Regions from separate parts of the Homo sapiens genome. Here regions 1, 2 and 4 are each linked to region 3. Evidence: promoter capture Hi-C in human tissues and cell types (Jung and others, 2019). All regions are on one chromosome and are shown on one strand. Each heading gives the region's core, a stretch centred on a gene start or on the middle of the fragment in contact. The rest is flanking DNA. Distances are from core to core; before and after follow the strand shown.

Region 1 (4,166 bases), core at 825-3,324, 180 kb before region 3:
TTGGGAGTTAATAAAGCACTCATATCTGAAAATCTGTTTCTGCATCCCACACTCAGAATGCATGGCGGAAACAGTCCAGGAATGCACAAGGCTTGCCTGGGAATCACATTCAGCAAGTTCTGGGATAGAAAAACTGAATCTAAAGGAAAATTGTATTGTGTACTTACCAGTACTCTGTAGAGTGTTTCAGTACCATGAAGCCAGGCGTGGTGGCTTATGCCTGTAATCCCAGGACTTCGGGAAGTAGAGGCAGGAGGATTGTTTGAGGCCAGGAGTTCGAGACCAGCCTGGGAAACATAAAGAGACCCCATCTCTACAAAAAATATAAAAATTATCCAGGCATGGTGGTGCATGCCTGTGGTCCCAGCTACTCTGGAGGCTGAGACGGGAGGATCCCTCGTGCCCAGGAGGTCAAGGCTACAGTGAGCTATGATTGTACCACCACACTTCAAACTGGTCAACATAACAAGATCCTGTCTCAAAAATAATAAAAAGACATGAGCTAGCTGACTTTTTTTTTTTTTGAGACTGAATTTTGCTCTTGTTTCCCAGGCTGGAGTGCAATGGTGTGATCTCGGCTCATCGCAACCTCCGCCTGCCGGGCTCAAGCGATTCTCCTGCCTCAGCCTCCCAAGTAGCTGGAATTACAGGCATGTGCCACCATGCCCGGCTAATTTTGTATTTTTAGTAGAGATGGGGTTTCTCCATGTTGGTCAGGCTGGTCTCAAACTCCCAACCTCAGGTGATCCACCCGCCTCGGCCAAAGTGCTGGGATTACAGGCGTGAGCCACTGTGCCCTGCTGAGCTAGCCCGCTTTTGCATGTTGCAGTAAATTTGCTAGGGCTTTCTGAACAAAGTTCCACAGATTGGATGGTTTAAACAACAGAAATCTATTTCCTCACAGTTCTGGAGGCTGGGAGGCTGAGGCCAAGGTGACGCCAGGGTTGATTCTCTCTGAGGCCTCTCTCCTTAGCCTGCAGATGTCCACCTTCTCCCTGTGTTCATGTCCTCTTTCCTCTGTGTATGTCTGTGTCCTAATCTATCACCCCACAACCTTTTTTTTTTTTTTTTGGAGAGACAGGGTCTTGCTATGTTGCCCAGGCTGATCCCAATTCCTGACCTCAAGTGATTCCCCCCACCTCAGCCTCCCAAAGTACTGGGATTACAGGCGTGAGCCACCATGCGCGGCCCCATCTCCCCTTCTTCTTCTTTTTTTTTTTTCTTTGAGACAGAGTCTCCCTCTGTCGCCCAGGCTGGAGTGCAGTGGCGCAATCTCGGCTCACTGCAACCTCCACCTACCGGGCTCAAGCAATTCTTCTGCCTCAGCCTCCCAGGTAGCTGGGACTACAGGTGCGTGCCATCATGCCCAGCTAATTTTTGTATTTTTAGTAGAGACGGGGTTTCACCATGTTGTCCAGGCTGGTCTGGAACTCCTGACCTCAAGTGATCTGCCTGCCTCGGCCTCCCAAAGTGCTGGGATTACAAGCATCAGCCACTGCACCCGGCCCCATCTCCCCTTCTTATAAGGACACCAGTCAGATTGGGTGGGGGCCCACCCCAATGACCTCATTCTAACTTAACTTCTTTAAAGACCCCATCTCCAAATATAGTCACATTCTAAGGTCCTGGAGGTTAGGACTTCAACATATAAATTTGGGAGATGCAATTCAGTTCATGACACAGATACATCTCCGGCAATTCAACACCTAACAAAAGCGTGATTTCTTCACGTTTTCCACTGCTTTCATCTTCTCAGTCGTTAAGTCAATAAAAGCCTCCGAGTTTTAAAAATACCTTAGCAATTTTGACATTTAGGAAGGTTCATAGCTCTCAGATTTGCCCAGCTTGACGTGATCTTATTTTTCAGAGGAAGCAGCCTCTATTCAGCTCCTAGTCACAGCCGGCCTTCTGGAACATTCTTTCGAGCATTTGAAGGCTTCCAAGAGATGGGAGGGGGTGTCTTTTATACTATAACGCTTTGAGTAATCTAGCTCATGCAGGCATTCCTCTTCATGAAGGACTTAGCTACCTGACTTTTGACCAGAAACAGATGATTTTACCTCAAAATTACTTTTTAAAAAATAAGTTGACCTACCACATATCAAAAAGATAATAGCGAATAGAAAAATTACTGCAGACAATTTATAGAGTCAAGAGACCTAGAAAGGCTTCAATTCCCACTACCACACCTTGAGAAAATTACCCAACCTCTTTGATCATGTTTGCCAATTAAAAAATGGGCAACTCGTCCGGGCACCATGGCTCACGCCTGTAATCCCAGCACTATGGGAGGCTGAGGCAGGAGGATCACCTGAGGTCAGGTTCGAGACCAGCCTGACCAACATGGAGAAACCCCATCTCGACAAAAAACACAAAATTTGCTGGGCGTGGTGGCGCATGCCTATAATCCTAGTTACTCGGGAGGCTGAGGCAGGAGAATTGCTTGAACCCAGGAGACGGAGGTTGTGGTGAGCCAAGATTGCATCATTGCACTCCAGCCTGGGCAACAGAGTGAGACTCCGTCTCAAAAAAAAAAGTGAGCAACTGAATTGAAGATCTTCAATTACTGGCCAGGTGTGGTGGCTCACACCTGTAATCCCAGCACTTTGGGAGGCCAAAGTGGGAGGATCTCTTGAGGTCAGGAGTTTGAGACCACCCTGGGCAACATAGTGAGACCCTGTCTCTACTAAAAATACAAAAATCAGCTGGGCGTGTTGGCACATGCCTGTAATCCCAGCTACTTGGGAGGCTGAGGTGGGAGAATCACTTGAACCCAGGAGGCAGAGGTTGCAGTGAGCCAAGATCACACCACTGCACTCCAGCCTGGTAGACAGAATAAGACTCTGCCTCAAAAACAAACCAAAATGAAACAACAAAACAATGCAAAGTTGGCCGAATGTGGTGGCTTATGCCTGTAATCCCAGCACTTTGGGAGGCCAAGGTGGGCAGATCGCTTGAGGCCAGGAGTTTGACACCAGCCTGGGCAACATAGTGAGACCTCCTCTCTACAAAAAAAAATCAAGGAAATTAGCTGGGCATGGTGGCACATGCCTGTAGTTCCACCTACTTGGGAGGCTGAGGTGGGAGGATAACTTGAGCCCAGGAGGTGGAGGCTGCAGTGAGCCATGCTCACACCACTGCACTCCGGCCTGGGCGACCTCAAAAACAAAACAATGTGGAATTGTGGAATTGGCCAGGTGTGGTGGCTCATGCCTGTGATCCCAGCACTTTGTGAGGCTGAGGCACAAGGATTGCTTGAGACCAGCCTAGGGAACAGAGTGAGATTCCATCTCTATTTTTAAAATTTATTTGTTTATTTATTTTTCTGCGAAAGGGTCTCACTCTGTCACCTAGGCTGGAGTGCAGTGACACAATCTCAGCTCACTGCAACCTCCACTTGCCAGGCTCAAGCAATCCTCCCACCTTAGCCTCCCAAGTAGCTGGGACTACAGGCACATGCCACCATGCCTGGCTAATTTTTTAAATTTTTATAGAGATGTGGGTTTCGCCATGTTACCCAGGCTGGTCTTGAACTACTGAGTTCAAGCAACTCAAGTGATCCTCCCGACTAGGCCTCCCAAAGTGCTGGGATTACAGACATGAGCCACCGTGACCAGCCTAAAATTTTTAAATAATAATAAAAAAGTCTTCAATCATTTCCTTCTATAAAATTCTAAGATTTTAATATAAAACAAACAAGCATCTTTCATCACATGGGTATCCTCAATTTACCCTACAAATGAAGATTATTCCATTAAATTTTGAACTTAAGCCTGGTTGCCCCACCATTACCCATCTGAAGCAATCCTTAACAACGCAGAATTGGCCAAATGTGGTGGCTCACGCCTGTAATCCCAGTACTTTGGGAGGCAGAGGCAGATGGATCACCGTGGTCAGGAGTTCAAGACCTGCCTGGCCAACATAGTGAAACCCCGTCTCTACTACAAATACAAAAATTAGTTGGGGGTGGTGGCAGGAACCTGTAGTCCCAGCTACTTGGGAGGCTGAGGCAGGAGAATTGCTTGAATCCAGGAGGTGGAGGCTGCAGTGAGATCATGCCACTGCACTCCAGCCTGGGTGATAGAAGGAAACTCCACCTCAAAAAAAAAAAGAAAAAAAAAGAAAAAGAAAAAAAAGACTCTGACTTGTCCTTGAAGTTCCTTCAA
Region 2 (4,523 bases), core at 1,060-3,559, 190 kb before region 3:
TTGGCCAGGCTGGTCGCGAACTCCTGACCTCAGGTGATACACCAGCCTCCACCTCCCAAAGTGCTGGGATTACAGGCGTGAGCCGTCGCGCCCGGCCAGAATTTGGCGAACCTTTGGACAGCTCTCCCCTTGTGTTGCAGCCTCGGGCTTCACGGGTCATCACCCCCAGCTTCACACCCTTCACCGGTTTCCCATCATTGCCTAGGACCCAGTCTGAACTCCTTATAAGGCCTGTTGGGCCCCGGATGCCCTGGTCTCGCTTCCGGCCTTTTTCCTTGCCACCCGCCACCCCACATACTGTTACCAGACAGCACTGGGCTCATGTCAGCTGCGTTTGCGATCACTCAGCTCTGCCACCAGCAGACCCTCCTGCATGCACCTTTCCAGAAGGCTCTTCCCAGCATTTTCTTTCTTTCTTTCTTTCTCTTTCTTTCTTTCTTTCTTTCTTTCTTTCTTTCTTTCTTTCTTTCTTTCTTTCTTCCTTCCTTCCTTCCTTCCTTCCTTCCTTCCTTCCTTTCTTCCTTCCTTCCTTCTTTCCTTTTTTCTTTTCTTTTCTTTTCTCTTAAAAAAAATGGAGTCTCACTCTGTGGCCCAGGCTGAAGGGCAGAGTGGCACAATCTCTGCTCACTGCAACCTCTGCCTCCCAGGTTCAAGCGATTCTCCTGCCTCAGCCTCCTGAGTAGCTGGTACTACAGGTGTGCGCCACCACACCCAGCTAATTTTTGTATTTTTAGTGAAGACGGGGTTTCACCATGTTGGCCAGGATTGTCTCGATCTCGATCTCATGATCTGCCCGCCTCGGCCTTCCAAAGTGCTGGGATTACAGGCATGAGCCACCCCACCTGGCCTTCCCAGCCTTTCATAAGGAGTTATCTCTTCCCAGAAGTCTCCCTCCACGCTGCGAGTCTGTGTTATGTCATTCTCTGAGCTTCCATGGGGCCCAATGAGCCCCTGTCACACCACTTAGCGTGCTGGAGTGCCTGCCTGCCTTCTCAGATGGAAGCCCCATGAGGGTAAGCACGTGTCAGCCTCACGCATGCATATCCCCAGCACCTCGACGCTGTGCTTGGCACCCCATAGGGCTCAGTAAGGATTTTACTAAATATGGCCAGGTACAGTGGCTCACACCTGTAATCTCAGCACTTTGGGAGGCCATGGTGGGAGGATCGCTTGAGGCCAGAAGTTTGAGACCAGCCTGGGCAACATAGTGAGACCCCATCTCTTCAAAATATTAAAAACTTAGCTAAGTGTGGTGGCGTGGCCTGTAGTCCTAGCTACTCAGGAGGCCAAGGGTGGGACAGTCGCTTGAACCCAGGAGCTCAAGGGTGCAGTGAGCTATGATTGTGCCACTGTACTCCAGCCAGGCTGACAGAACGAGATCCTGTTGCTGCAAAAAACTGACTAAATGTGTGAATGAAGGAATGAATGTGTTCACTGTTCCCTGAGGAGGGTCTGCAAAAGCCAGTACATGTCCTTCCACCCCCTTTCCTCCCTGTTCACTGGGTGCCTCTCATTGTCTCCCAAGCCTCTGCAGACACATCCCAGGGAACAGTGCTGCTGAAGGACTAGTTCTGTTCCTTGTGATGGTGGAAAGAAATGGGATTTGGGCCAGGCACGGTGGCACACACCTGTAATCCTAACACTTTAGGAGGCTGAGGCAGGAGGATTGCTTGAGGCCAGGAGTTTGAGGCCAGCCTGGGAAACATAGTAAGACCCCCATCTCTACAAAAAACAAAGATTAGCCAGGTGTGGTGGTGCATGCCTGTAATCCCAGCTGCTCGGGAAGCTGAGGCAGGAGGATAGCTTGAACCCAGAAGGTTGAAGCTGCAGTGAGCCGTGATCACGCCAGTGCACTCCAGCCTGGGTGACAGAGTGAGACCCTGTCTCTAAAAAATTAAAAAAAAAAAAGAGGCCAGGCACAGTGGCTCATGCCTGTAATCCCAGCACTTTGGGAGGCCGAAGCGGGTGGATCATGAGGGTCAGGAGTTTGAGACCAGCCTGGACAATATGGTGAAACCCGTCTCTACTAAAAATACAAAAATTAGCCAGGCTTGGTGGCACACACCTGTAAGCCAAGCTACTTGGGAGGCTGAGGCAGGAGAATCCTTCAACCCAGGAGGCGGAGGTTGCAGTGAGCCAAGATCACGCCACTGCACTCCAGCCTGGGTGACAGAGCAAGACTCCATCTCAGAAAAAAATAAAAATTAAAAATAAATAAATAAATAAGAGAAATGGGATTTGGAGTGAGGCCAACCCAGTCTCAGTACCGACTCTACCACTTACCAGCTGTACATGTGCCTTATTTTCTCCATTTGCAAAGTGCAGAAAACAGGACCAAGCTTGCAGGGTTGCTGTGAGACATCGCCTGCCAGCCTGACACGTGGTAGGCAGTCATTAGATCAGGGTCTTCCTCCCTCTTTCCCAGAGCCCCCACCTAAGCTCCCTCCCCTCTGGAACCTTGGGACACACACACACCTGTAATCTGAAATAGCAGCTGCTACTTCCCTGACCCTCCTCTGACCCCCAAGGTTGCCCTGTCCTCTATCCCCCCACAGAGTAGTGCCAGGCACAGAACAGATGCTCCAAAGATATGAAAAGAATGAAGGAATGAACGAAGCAGCCACCACCACAGTTTCTCATGGGGCGTGTTCCCCAGAGGCCACGAGCCTCTTTTTTTTTTTTTTTGAGACAGATTCTCACTCTGTCACCCAGGCTGGAGTGCAGTGGTGTGATCTCGGCTCACTGCAACCTCCGCCTCTGCCTCCTGGGTTCAAGTGATTCTCCTGCTTCAGCCTCCCAAGTATCTGGGACTACAGGCACACACCACCATGCATGGCTAATTTTTGTATTTTTAGTAGAGACGGGGTTTCAACATGTTGGCCAGGCTGGTCTGGAACACCTGGCCTCAGGTGATCTGCCCGCCTCAGCCTCCCAAAATGCTGGATTACAGGCGTGAGCCACGGCGCCTGGCCTGGGCCTGGATTCTTGTACATGGCATTAGGGCACCCCTGTGAGTTGCCCCAAGGATCACATGTGCACGACTGTGTCATCTGAGCAAACTCCCCCAAAGGGTGTCTGCATTCCCCACAGCCATTGCTGGTGCTAACAGGACAAGTTCCAAAAAAGAAAAGCTTTTAAAAATGTTTTATTGATTTATGTTTGATTTTTGGTAGAGATGGGGTCTTGCTATGTTGCCCAGGCTTGTCTTGAACTCCTGGCCTCAAGTGATTCCCCTGCCCCGCCGCACCTCAGCCTCCCAAAGTTCTGGGATTACAGGTGCGAGCCACAGTGCCCAGCCTGAAATCACTTTCTAAATTTGCCCTTTTCATCATGTTTTCCTCTTGTAACCGTTTTATGTCACGTGTACCCTGAGGCCCCCTGACAGCCCCCCTTGGGTCCCCTCTGCAGCCTCTTGTGTTATATGTGATCGGAGCACCCCCAGAGCTTCGTCATCCGTGACGAGCACCCGCCCTCTCTCCAGTGGGAATCATCAGCTGATGAATAAGGGCTGATTTCTTCTCAAATGATCACCACCCCCAATTCATTACATTCCAAAGACTGAGCTCAGAATGGCTTATCTGATGCTTGGTGCGGTTGTGCTTTTTTGGAACGCCGTTCATTGAGGACGCAGGTTCTCTCCCGTGTGATGCTCTTGGGCGCAAGCTGTGACGTGGGTTCCACGCTATTCTGTGCCACGTCCTCCCCTGTGATTTTCGCATCTCCGATAACTGCTTGCCTCCGTCTGAGGATTTTCCTCCGCTGGTGCCATTCATTGGGAGTCTCTCTAGTATGAATTATGAGATGAATGGAAATTTTCCCTCATTCATAATATTCAAAGCTTTCCTCTGCCCTGTGAATTCTTTGATATTCTTCCAGAATCCTGACCAAATATTTTGCCATGTGTATCGGGCCAGTAGAGTTTAGGCTTAGAGTCTGCAATTTCCCCAAAGTGGTAACTTTCTTTTTTTTTAAGAGATGGGGTCTTGCTCTGTTGCCCAGGCTGGAATGCAGTGGCATGATTATAATTCACTGCAGCCTTGACCTCCTGGGCTCAAGTGATCCTCCCATCTCAGCTTCCTGAGTAGCTGGGACTACAGGCACACATCACCATACCTGGCTAATTTTTTTTTTTTTTTGAGACGGAGTCTTGCTCTGTCTCCCAGGCTGGAGTGCAGTGGCATGAACTCGGCTCACTACAACCTCCACCTCCCGGGTTCAAGCGATTCTCCTCCTGCCTCAGCCTCCCAAGTAGCTGGGACTACAGGTGCGTACCACTATGCCCAGGTAATTTTTTGTATGTTTAGTAGAGATGGGGTTTCACCATGTTAGCCAGGATGGTCTCGATCTCCTGACCTCAAGATCCGCCCGCCTTGGCCTCCCAAAATGCTGGGATTACAGGTGTCAGCCACCGCGCCCGGCCCCATTGAGGAATTTTAAAATTCCATTTGCTGGAAGAACCAGCCCGTTTTCTGTCTGTTACATGGCTATCTTGAAATAGTCCTGCCTGGAATTGCTTGAACCTG
Region 3 (4,562 bases), core at 266-2,765:
CAGGAGTCCCTGGCCTTAGCTAATAATCGAATCCTCAGTGTCCCCAGTCCACAGGCCTTGTGGCAAACATGGTGGAAGCCCTCCTGTGTGCACAGGTACTGGGGTCCTGCTGTATAGGGTGCCAGGGTGCGAGGAGCAGGCAGTAAGGACACAGACGGGGATCCCAGTGGGCAGAGATGCCTAGGTCCTGCCAGTTGGGGTAGGATCTTGCAGTAGCTTAGGGGGCTTTAATCCTCCAAGCCCCATACACCTGCCTTCTTTTTATTTTATTTTAGTTTTTAGCAATAGGGTCACCCTCTGTCACCCAGGCTGGAGTGCAGTGGCGTGATCGTAGTTCACTGCAGCCTCAAACTCCTAGACTCAAGTCTTTTGAGTAGTTGGGAGTACAGGCATGTGCCACCATGCCCAGCCTTTTTTTTTTTTTTTTTTTTTTTTGAGACAGAGTCTCACTCTGTTGCCCAGGCTGGAGTGCAGTGGTGCGATCTTGGCTCACTGCCACCTCCACCTGCCAGGTTCAAGTGATTCTCCTGCCTCAGCCTCCCGAGTAGCTGTGATTACAGGTGCGCACCATCACACCCGGCTAATTTTTGTATGTTTAGTAGAAATGGAGTTTGGCCCTATTGGCCAGGCTGGTCTTGAACTCCTGACCTCAGGTGATCCGCCCTCCTCGGTCTCCCAAAGTGCTGGGATTATAGGCGTGAGCCACCATGCCCAGGGGCCCAGCCAGCCCATTTTTTAAAAATTATCACTTTTTGTAGAGATGGGGTCTTGCTATGTTGCCCAGGCTGGTCTCCAACTCCTGGCCTCAGGCTATCCTCCCGTCTCGGCCTTCCCAAAGCATTAGGATTACAGGCATGAGCCACCGCACCCGCCTGGCCTTACACCTGTCTTCTGCTAGACCTGGGGCAGCATCGCGGGTGGTGGAGGCCCCACTTTCTGCATTTAACAGTTTCTAAAGCGGATTCTGGAGCGGGCAGAAAAAACGCTAGGGGAAGGGCTGGTCCCCTTCCCGCTGCTGGCTCACCCTCTGATAGACTTGGCCTTGGCTTATCTCCTGGAGTCCTGTTCTTTTAGCTTTTCCTGCTGAATGCATTCCAGAAACCTCTGGAGGGAGGGAGTCCCGAGCTCCTGGCACAGTGGCTGAGACCTACTTGTTGGGCAGACTAGGTGGAATGTCCCCTTTTCTGGAGCTGGGAGGAGACCTCAGAGAGTGGGACGGGGTCTTTCTTGCGGGGACCTGTGGCCACGGAGCGGGAGGGAGGCGAGTGCAGTTTCCCTCCTGCCCTCTCCTCCTGCCTTCCGGGTGCCTCTTCACGCCCTCCCTTTCCTTCCCTTCCTCCTCCTCCCGCGCTCTCTCTCCACTCCCCTCCCCCTACTCCCTCCGCTCGGTCCTTCCTATAGCTGTGCCGCCCCCCACCCCTTACCTAGCCAGAGCTGATCTTGACCTCTAGGATGGTGAGGGGGCCTGAGGCCTGGAGGCCGCCGTTGCTGGGTGCCTGGAAAAGAAACAAAACTGAAACTAATTGTACTTGTGGTGCAACTTCCGTCCCAGCCAGGGACACACCGACTCGCCTCGCACAGCCTCAGGCCCCGCCTTCCTCCCCACCCGGCCCCGTCCTCTCCCGCCAAGGCCCCCACCCCGGCAGGCAGCTGGCAGGCTTGGGCTGGAGTCCACCAGCCAGGTCGGCCTGTCAGTCCAGCCTCAGGGCTAAGTGTGTGTATGTCACAAACAGGGAACTACCTGAGGGCGGGTTCTCTGAGTAGAGGGTGGAGGGTCACAGGGTTTATTTGTGGGAAGAAATGAGAGCTCATCTGTGATTCAGAGACCAGGGTAACTAGACACATGGCCTCAGGGCGGGTCTGCAGATTTGCTAACACCTCAGGCAGGCAGGTGCCTGCAAAGCTTCAAGAGAGGCCTTTCATTCCATAAACCGTTGCTGAGCTGTAGGAGAGGCTGTGGGGGATCAGGTAAGAAGCCTCTTGCTGAGGGAACAGCACAGGCTTCCTGGAGAAGGCATCAATGAGATGAGTTTAAAGAAGGCGGGAGGATTGCTTCAGCCCAGGAGTTCAAGACCAGCTTGGGCAATATGGTGAGACCCAGTCTCCATAAAAAATTCGCTAGCCGTGCATGGTAGCGCATACCTGTAATCCCAGATACTCAGGAGACTGAGGCAGGAGAATCACTTGAACCTGGGAGGTCGAGGCTGCAGTGAGCCATGATGGTGACACTGCACTCCAGCCTGGATGACAGAGCAAGACCCTGTCTAAAAAATAAAACAGTAAGAGGGCATAGAGGGCTGGAGAACACTGAGAAGAATGTTCCTGTTCCAGGTACTGGGAGCAGCAAGGGTACATCCCCATTTAGGATGATGTGTGTGGAGAGGATACGAGAGTGTTGGCAGAGAAGCCTGCATTTTATCAAAAAAGACAAAAGAATCATTGCAGGAGATTTCCCTCAACATTTCATGAAAAAATAATTTTTATTTTGAGACAAAGCCTCGCTCTGTCGCCCAGGCTGGAGTGCAGTGGTGTGATCTTAGCTCACAGCAACCTCCGCTTCCCGGGTTCAAGCGATCCTCCTGCCTCAGCCTCCAAAGTAGCTGGGATTACGGGCACTCACTGCCACGCCCAGCTAATTTTTGTATTTTTAGTAGAGATGGGGTTTCACTATGTTGGCCAGGCTGGTCTCGAACTTCTGACCTCAAGTGATCCACCCACCTTGGCCTCCCAAAGTGCTGGGATTACAGGCGTGAGCCAACATGCACAGCCTCATTTTATGAAAAATTCAAAGCACAAAGAAGTTGAAAGAATTGCGGTGAACACCCATATCTCCACCACTTCTGTTCTACAATTATCATTTTACCGTAATTAATTCATGACATACCTATGCATGTTTGTACCTTTTTATCCACATGGCGGAATTTAAGTAGGAAACTGAAGCTGTAAGAGCTCACTCTGGCAGCAGCCGAGAGGACAGAAGGGAGCCTGACCTCAGGGTCCAGGTGAAAGGTGGAGGGGCTGAGACATAGATGCCAGAGAGGTAGGTGGAAATCCAAAAGAGAGAGGGTCACAGAGGCCAAGGCAGGAAATGCTGCACTTCTAGAAGGACGAGGGGGTCAGCACTGTTGAATGCTACCAACCAGACGGGCAACCAAGGTGAAGACAGAAAAACAGGCCAGGTGCAGTGGCTCACACCTGTAATCTCAGCACTTTGGGAGAATCACTTGAGGCCAGGAGTTCGAGACCAGCCTGGCCAACATGGCAAAACCTCGTCTCTACTAAAAAACAAAACAAAACAAAACAAAACCTAGCCTTCCTAGCTACTCGGTAGGCTGAGGCAGGAGAACTGCTTAAACCTGGGAGGCAGAGGTTGCAGCGAGCCTAGATCGCACCATTGCACTCCAGCCTGGGCAACAGAGTGAGACTCCATCTCAAAAAATATATATATTAGCTACCTGATGGCTCACACCTGAAGTCCCAGCTATTCAGGAGGCTGAAGCAGGAGGTTCGCTTGAGCCCAGGACTTCAAGGCTGCATGTGCCATGATCTATGCCACTGCACTCCAGCCTGGGTGACAGATCAAGACTCTCTCTACAAAAAAAAAAAATTAAAATTAAAATTAAATTCCCTGTTGTGAATCTCGTAAGGTCTTAATATAATGGTCAAGGAAGGCCATTATAAGGCTTCCAGCAGGGAAGTTTGGACTTTGTCCTATAGGTATTAGAGGGAGTGGCCAGCACAGACATTTGTTTGTTTGTTTTTTGTTTGTTTGTTTGCAGAGATGGGGTCTTTCTATGTTGCCTAGGCTAGTCCTGGGATTATAGGCATGAGCTACCAGGCCCGGCCCCCAGCAGAGGTTTTTAATCCTAAATTATAATGTGGATACTTTAAAACACTCATATCATCATTGTAACACAATTAACTATTTCTTTCCTGTGTGTATGTCCTTTGGTCTCTGTCCGTATTTTACATAATTATATTTACAGGGTACATATAATTTTGTCTATAAAACTTAGCCCTATACCAACTGGTAAACAAAATTATGAGGCCAGGTGTGGTGGCCCATGCTTGTAATCCCAGCACTTTGGGAGGCCAAGGTGGGAGGATTGCTTGAGTTCAGGAGTTTGAGACCAGCCTGGGCAACATACTGAGACCACCCCCGTCTCTACGGAAAAAATAAAAAATTAGAAAGAGGGCACATGTTCTCAGGATCTCCCGGGGCTGTGTCACAAGTCATTAAAAAAAATAATGTGCCTATAGTTCCAGCTACTTGGGAGGCTGAGGTGGGAGGATCGCTTGAGTCCCAGAGTTCAAGACCAGCCTGGGTTAACATTGAGGCAGAAATTTAAAAATAATAGTAATAATAAGTACTGCATTCATTCACTCCAAGAAAAGTAAAAGCCAAGGCCCAGAATGTGGGAAGATAAGGGTTAAAAAGAAAAGAAGAACAAATTTTCCTCTGCCTAACAAACTCACTTCAAGGACAGTTATAAGATAACGCTGCTCGAGAAGTCAAAACCAAAGGAATAGGTTCCAGACAGTCCCCCTCCGAAGCAAAGGTG
Region 4 (4,459 bases), core at 79-2,578, 150 kb before region 3:
CGGGAGAGGTCAGAGCCCAGGGAGCCCCAGCTCTCGCCTGTGGGCTGGAAGGTCAGGACTCAGCCCCACCTAGCCAGCTTCGCCCCCTCGTGCCAGGCTCGGCATGGGCCTGTTTTGCTTCACCGCATACCTCTCGTTCCACAGCCCAGGCCAGCACAGGAGTAGGGAGGAGACACCTGAGGGGAGGCCGGAGAAGCCCAGCAGGGCCGTGGGGCCAGGGAGGTGCGCAGCCAGCGCTGATGGCCCCCAGGGACAGAGCCCTAGGGAACCGGAGCAGGAGATGAGAGTGTCTGCTCTGGGACAGGTGCTCTGCACTGGCTCGGGATGGGGACCAGAGGCTGCTAATCCATCATCATTAACGAATAGAGTGGGTGACAGTCCCTGATAACTGGGAACAGGTTGCAGAGCTTAGCCACAGGATCACGCTCCAGGCTGTTGGCCAGCAGGACCAGGCTCGATGCTGAGTCAAAGATCAACTTAGGAGGAAATTTGAGTTTTGGGTGAGAGCGACTCCCTGGTGGCCTCAGCCCTGTGACACTCACATCCAGGACAGTTCCCGGTGCCAAGCGCTGGTTATGTGTGGGGGGCTTGACTCCCTGGTCCCAACGAGGTCTCAGTGTGTTGCCCAGGCTGGTCTTGAACTCCTGAGTTCAAGCAATCGTCTCAGCCCAGCCTCCCAAAGTGGTAGGATTACAGGCGAGAGCCACTGCGCCCGGCCCCTGGTCCCAGTTCTCACCACAGCCCCTGCAGTAAGCAGTCGGGTATGTCACTGACAGAGCAGAAGCTCAGGGGACTAAAACTCCCCGCCTGAGTTCCCTGGTGAATGGATGGTGGGGCCGAGTTCCATTCCAGGCTGGATGGAGCCCAGAGCTGTGGGTCTCCTACCCTCCCATCCCCTCATTCCAGCTTGATCTTCCTTAAGAGACTCATACGCCCCAACCCCTTGGTCTGAGTATCTTAGATTGTTCTCGTGGTTCCTCCGTCCTTCACCACTGAAGGCTGCTGTTCATTCTCTCTCCGTCTCTGTCCCTTATTGCTCTCACGTCTGTCTCTGTCATCTTTTCACTCCTTGTCCCTCTTACTCCGTTCTTTGGCCCCCAATGAAAGCTGAGTCAGAGACAGACGCTTCCCCTCAGTTCCCAGTGCCTCCCTTGGGGGCCCCTCCTTGGCTGTATCCGTCAGTGGCTCCAGGGTAAGTCTGCCCCCCCCACCCTCGTGGGGCGGGGAGCCCGGGGCAGCCCAGAGGCTGGGGGGAGGGGGTGGACTTTTGGCCCGTTTCGGTTATTCCCTCCATCTCGTCAACAGCTGCCGCGCGCAGGCTTAGCTCATTCCTCTGACCTGCCAGGAAGCAGAGAGACCCACAGAGCAGGAGGGAGGCAGAAAGTGGAGACGGACCTGAGCCCGAGGAAGAGGCAGGCAGAGGCTGAGGCTGATTCCACCCCAGCCTGCCTGGACAACCCTCCTTAGCCGCAGCCCCTTCCAGTTCCCTAGGGGTTCTGCCCCTCCCCCTCTCTGGGGCACCAGCCCCCCAGGGTCCTGCATCCCACCATGTCGATGGCTGTGGAAACCTTTGGCTTCTTCATGGCAACTGTGGGGCTGCTGATGCTGGGGGTGACTCTGCCAAACAGCTACTGGCGAGTGTCCACTGTGCACGGGAACGTCATCACCACCAACACCATCTTCGAGAACCTCTGGTTTAGCTGTGCCACCGACTCCCTGGGCGTCTACAACTGCTGGGAGTTCCCGTCCATGCTGGCCCTCTCTGGTATGGGGTGGGGAGCGCTCCAGGGAGAGAGGGCGGCGGGGAAGCTGCAGAGACCCCAGGGGAGGGCGGGTACTTCCGTGAGGATGCAGGGAGCCCTGAATTAAGCTCTGCGGGTCTGAGTTCCCGCAGCCAGGAGTGCTGGGGGCGGCCCATGCCTAGAACTGGAGTGAAGACCTTGCCACACGTGGCCCCCTGCGCTAGTGTGGCGCTTTTAGCTGTTACAGGTGCAGGCACCAGAATCAGACCCCCTTTCCCAGCCCTGTGCTGTGGGCAAATGATGAAACCAGCTTCATCTCCCACCTGTAGGGTTAGGGTGAGAGTCCCAGTTCACAGGTGACTGAGAAAGTGCAGAATGTTAGCGTGATGTTAACACACATAGGCACTCAGTACGGTTGAGCATGTTTTGGGGGTGGGATTGCTGGGGTGGGCAGGGGGAGGAGGCCCCATCTTGGATTCTTAGAGGTTGATCAACTTCCAGGCTCCACAGACTCCCCAGCCTCACTGTCGGGGGGCACTGGTCTCCTTGTCCGGCTGATGTCTATAAAGGGCCCCTGTGAAGGGAGGCGTCTTGCAAGTTGCAGGTTGAGCGTCCGCTGTAAGGAGGCGGTGTGTGTGCAGGTGTGTGGGGCTTCCAGGACAGTGTCTTTCTGGGGTCTTAGAGGGCTGGAGCCAACAGCTCTTTGGGCCCAGGGCAGTTCTTTCTGTGGCTGCGGCACCTTCCCGCTCCCTGCTCCCCGCTAAGATGAGGCCGCCCCATTGTTTCTCCGGGGCAGTCTCCCTTCCGTCTGCCCTATGCCAGAGACTGAGCGCTGGCGACCGTGAACTGTGTGTGGTGCCGCTGCACGCCCTCCTGGGTCCTTCAGGGCCAGTCCACTCACCAGGCACCGTGTGGCAGGGAAGGAGCCGAGGGCGACACTGGCTGTGAAGCGGGGCTTGAGAGCTCACCCCCGGGGATGTTGGAGCTGCTCTGAGCAGTTAGGGGGCCTGGGTGGGTCTCCTGTGCCCCCACTACTCCCAGCCCCTCCTGAGGCAGCGGCAGAGGCTTCCTGTTTTCATCCATCTCTCTAGGACTGACTGTATGCAGGGCCGGCGGGCCCCCCCCCCAAAAAAAACCCTATAAAAGCTGAGTACAACTTGGGCCAGAACCCCAGAGTTCTGAGTGTCCAGAAGGGACACTGGAGGCAGCCCCTACACCCACTTCCCAGACACATCATGCTGTGAGGAGGGGGCTCTGCTGTGAGCCTGCACACCTGAGAGGGGCACCCCTGGCAACTGCATGAAAGATGGTGCCAGAGTCCCCAGGGCACAGGGGTAGAGGGTGACCAGGTTCCGGGCCTTGGGCTAGGTGCTTCTGCCTACATTTTTCCACAGTGGGGAAGTAGGGGGAAACTTTTACAGAAGCAAGGTGCAGCACCCCACCCTGAATCACACAGGCAGGAGAGGGGAGCCGGCATTCAGACTCCACGGCTGGGGTGGTCCTGGGAGAGGGACCTGACTGCGTCTCCCAACCGTGCACCCCAGCCCCTGGCCACGCAGCCCATGTGCCCCTGGGCTCTTCCATAATCTCTCCATTGACTGCTAGAGCCACCTGGGGACTCAGACTCGTGTCAGCCCCAGAGGGAGTGGCTGGGAGGAAGAAAGTGCTCCCAGAGAACTTTGTCCCTCCTGCCTACCCCCCGACTCTGCACCCTGCATCTCCTGGCAGGGACCCAGCCTTTCCCCTTCAGCACCAACAGTTATGCCCCACCCGGGAAAGGGGTGCAAGGTCCTTGGAATGCTTGGCAACTATCAAAGACAGAGAAGGGAGGAGAAGGGGGAAGCAAGAGGGAGCCCGCAGCCTCCAGCTCTGAGAAAAGGGAAACTGAGGCACTGAAAGACTGAGCTAGACTGACCTGGATCGGTCCTGGGCCCAGGATTCCACCTAGGTCAGAAACTCCACCGGGTGTGGTGGTCCACACCTGTAACCTGAGCTACTCAGGAGGCTGAGGCAGGAGGATCGCCTGCATCCAGGAGTTCAATCAAGGCTACAGTGATGAGCTGTAGTGGCGCCACTGTCCTCTGGCCTGGGCGACAAAGCAAGACCCTGTCTCTAAAACTGCCCTAGGCCCTCTGCTGTACAGCACCGCTGCCCCCTACCTGTTACTCCAGGAAGAAACCAAGGTCAAAATGTCCAGCACTGGGCTAGGACAGTGAAGGACTTGGAGTGGAATCAGACGTGGGGAAGGCGACAGCGATGCTTAGCTGTGGTTTCTGTATACCCAGCAACGTGAGAGCAACCTGATAGGGCAGTTGTTCTCAGCCGGGCGACTTTGCACAATGATTGTCACAGCTTGTGGGGAGGGGGTTGCTACTGGCACCCCGTGGGTAGAGGTCAGGGAGGCTTCTGAACATCCCACAGTACACAGGACGGCCCCCAGAATAGAGTTGCCCAGCTCAGGTGTCAAGAGTGCCCAGGAGAAAGCCTGTAATCCAGGCACAAGCAAAGCGTGCCAGGTGCATGGGAGGAGTGGGGAGCAGGGTGGGAGGGGCCCAGATGCCTAAGGAGGGAAGGGTGACTGCAACTGGGTAGGCTGGAGGAGCCCAGGGGAAGGAGAGGATGTGGGGACTGTTAGGTACAAGAGAGCAAGAAGGTGAGGGGGGCCTGGCACAGTGGCTCATGCCTGTAATCCCAGCACTTCAGGAGGCCGAGGCAAG

Evidence for each region. The method cuts DNA at HindIII sites, captures the fragments that hold promoters and counts their contacts. A contact is called where the count stands out against the background at its distance.
Region 1: a fragment that was not itself captured here is called in contact with the fragment with the promoter of TRIM56 in region 3 in 1 of the 25 tissues and cell types used here (thymus).
Region 2: a fragment that was not itself captured here is called in contact with the fragment with the promoter of TRIM56 in region 3 in 8 of the 25 tissues and cell types used here (IMR-90 fibroblasts, aorta, dorsolateral prefrontal cortex and 5 more).
Region 4: the fragment with the promoter of CLDN15 here is called in contact with the fragment with the promoter of TRIM56 in region 3 in 2 of the 25 tissues and cell types used here (heart right ventricle and stomach).

The regions. Positions count from the first base shown.
Region 1 is chr7:101,259,784-101,263,949 of GRCh38, reverse strand. No RefSeq gene overlaps it. Among named protein-coding and RNA genes, the nearest start is that of FIS1, 17 kb to the right of the region's middle. The HindIII fragment of the contact is 6,396 bases long and covers 1-4,166 here.
Region 2 is chr7:101,277,781-101,282,303 of GRCh38, reverse strand. No RefSeq gene overlaps it. Among named protein-coding and RNA genes, the nearest start is that of LNCPRESS1, 20 kb to the left of the region's middle. The HindIII fragment of the contact is 6,351 bases long and covers 1-4,523 here.
Region 3 is chr7:101,082,434-101,086,995 of GRCh38, reverse strand. TRIM56 (tripartite motif containing 56) reads right to left here and starts at 1,515. Exons shown (of 3, transcript NM_030961.3): 1 at 1,425-1,515. RefSeq lists enhancers at 1,905-1,954, 2,658-3,158. The HindIII fragment of the contact is 14,444 bases long and covers 1-4,281 here.
Region 4 is chr7:101,234,671-101,239,129 of GRCh38, reverse strand. It overlaps CLDN15 (claudin 15), which reads left to right and starts at 1,328. Exons shown (of 5, transcript NM_014343.3): 1 at 1,328-1,765. The coding sequence starts at 1,549. The HindIII fragment of the contact is 32,734 bases long and covers 1-4,459 here.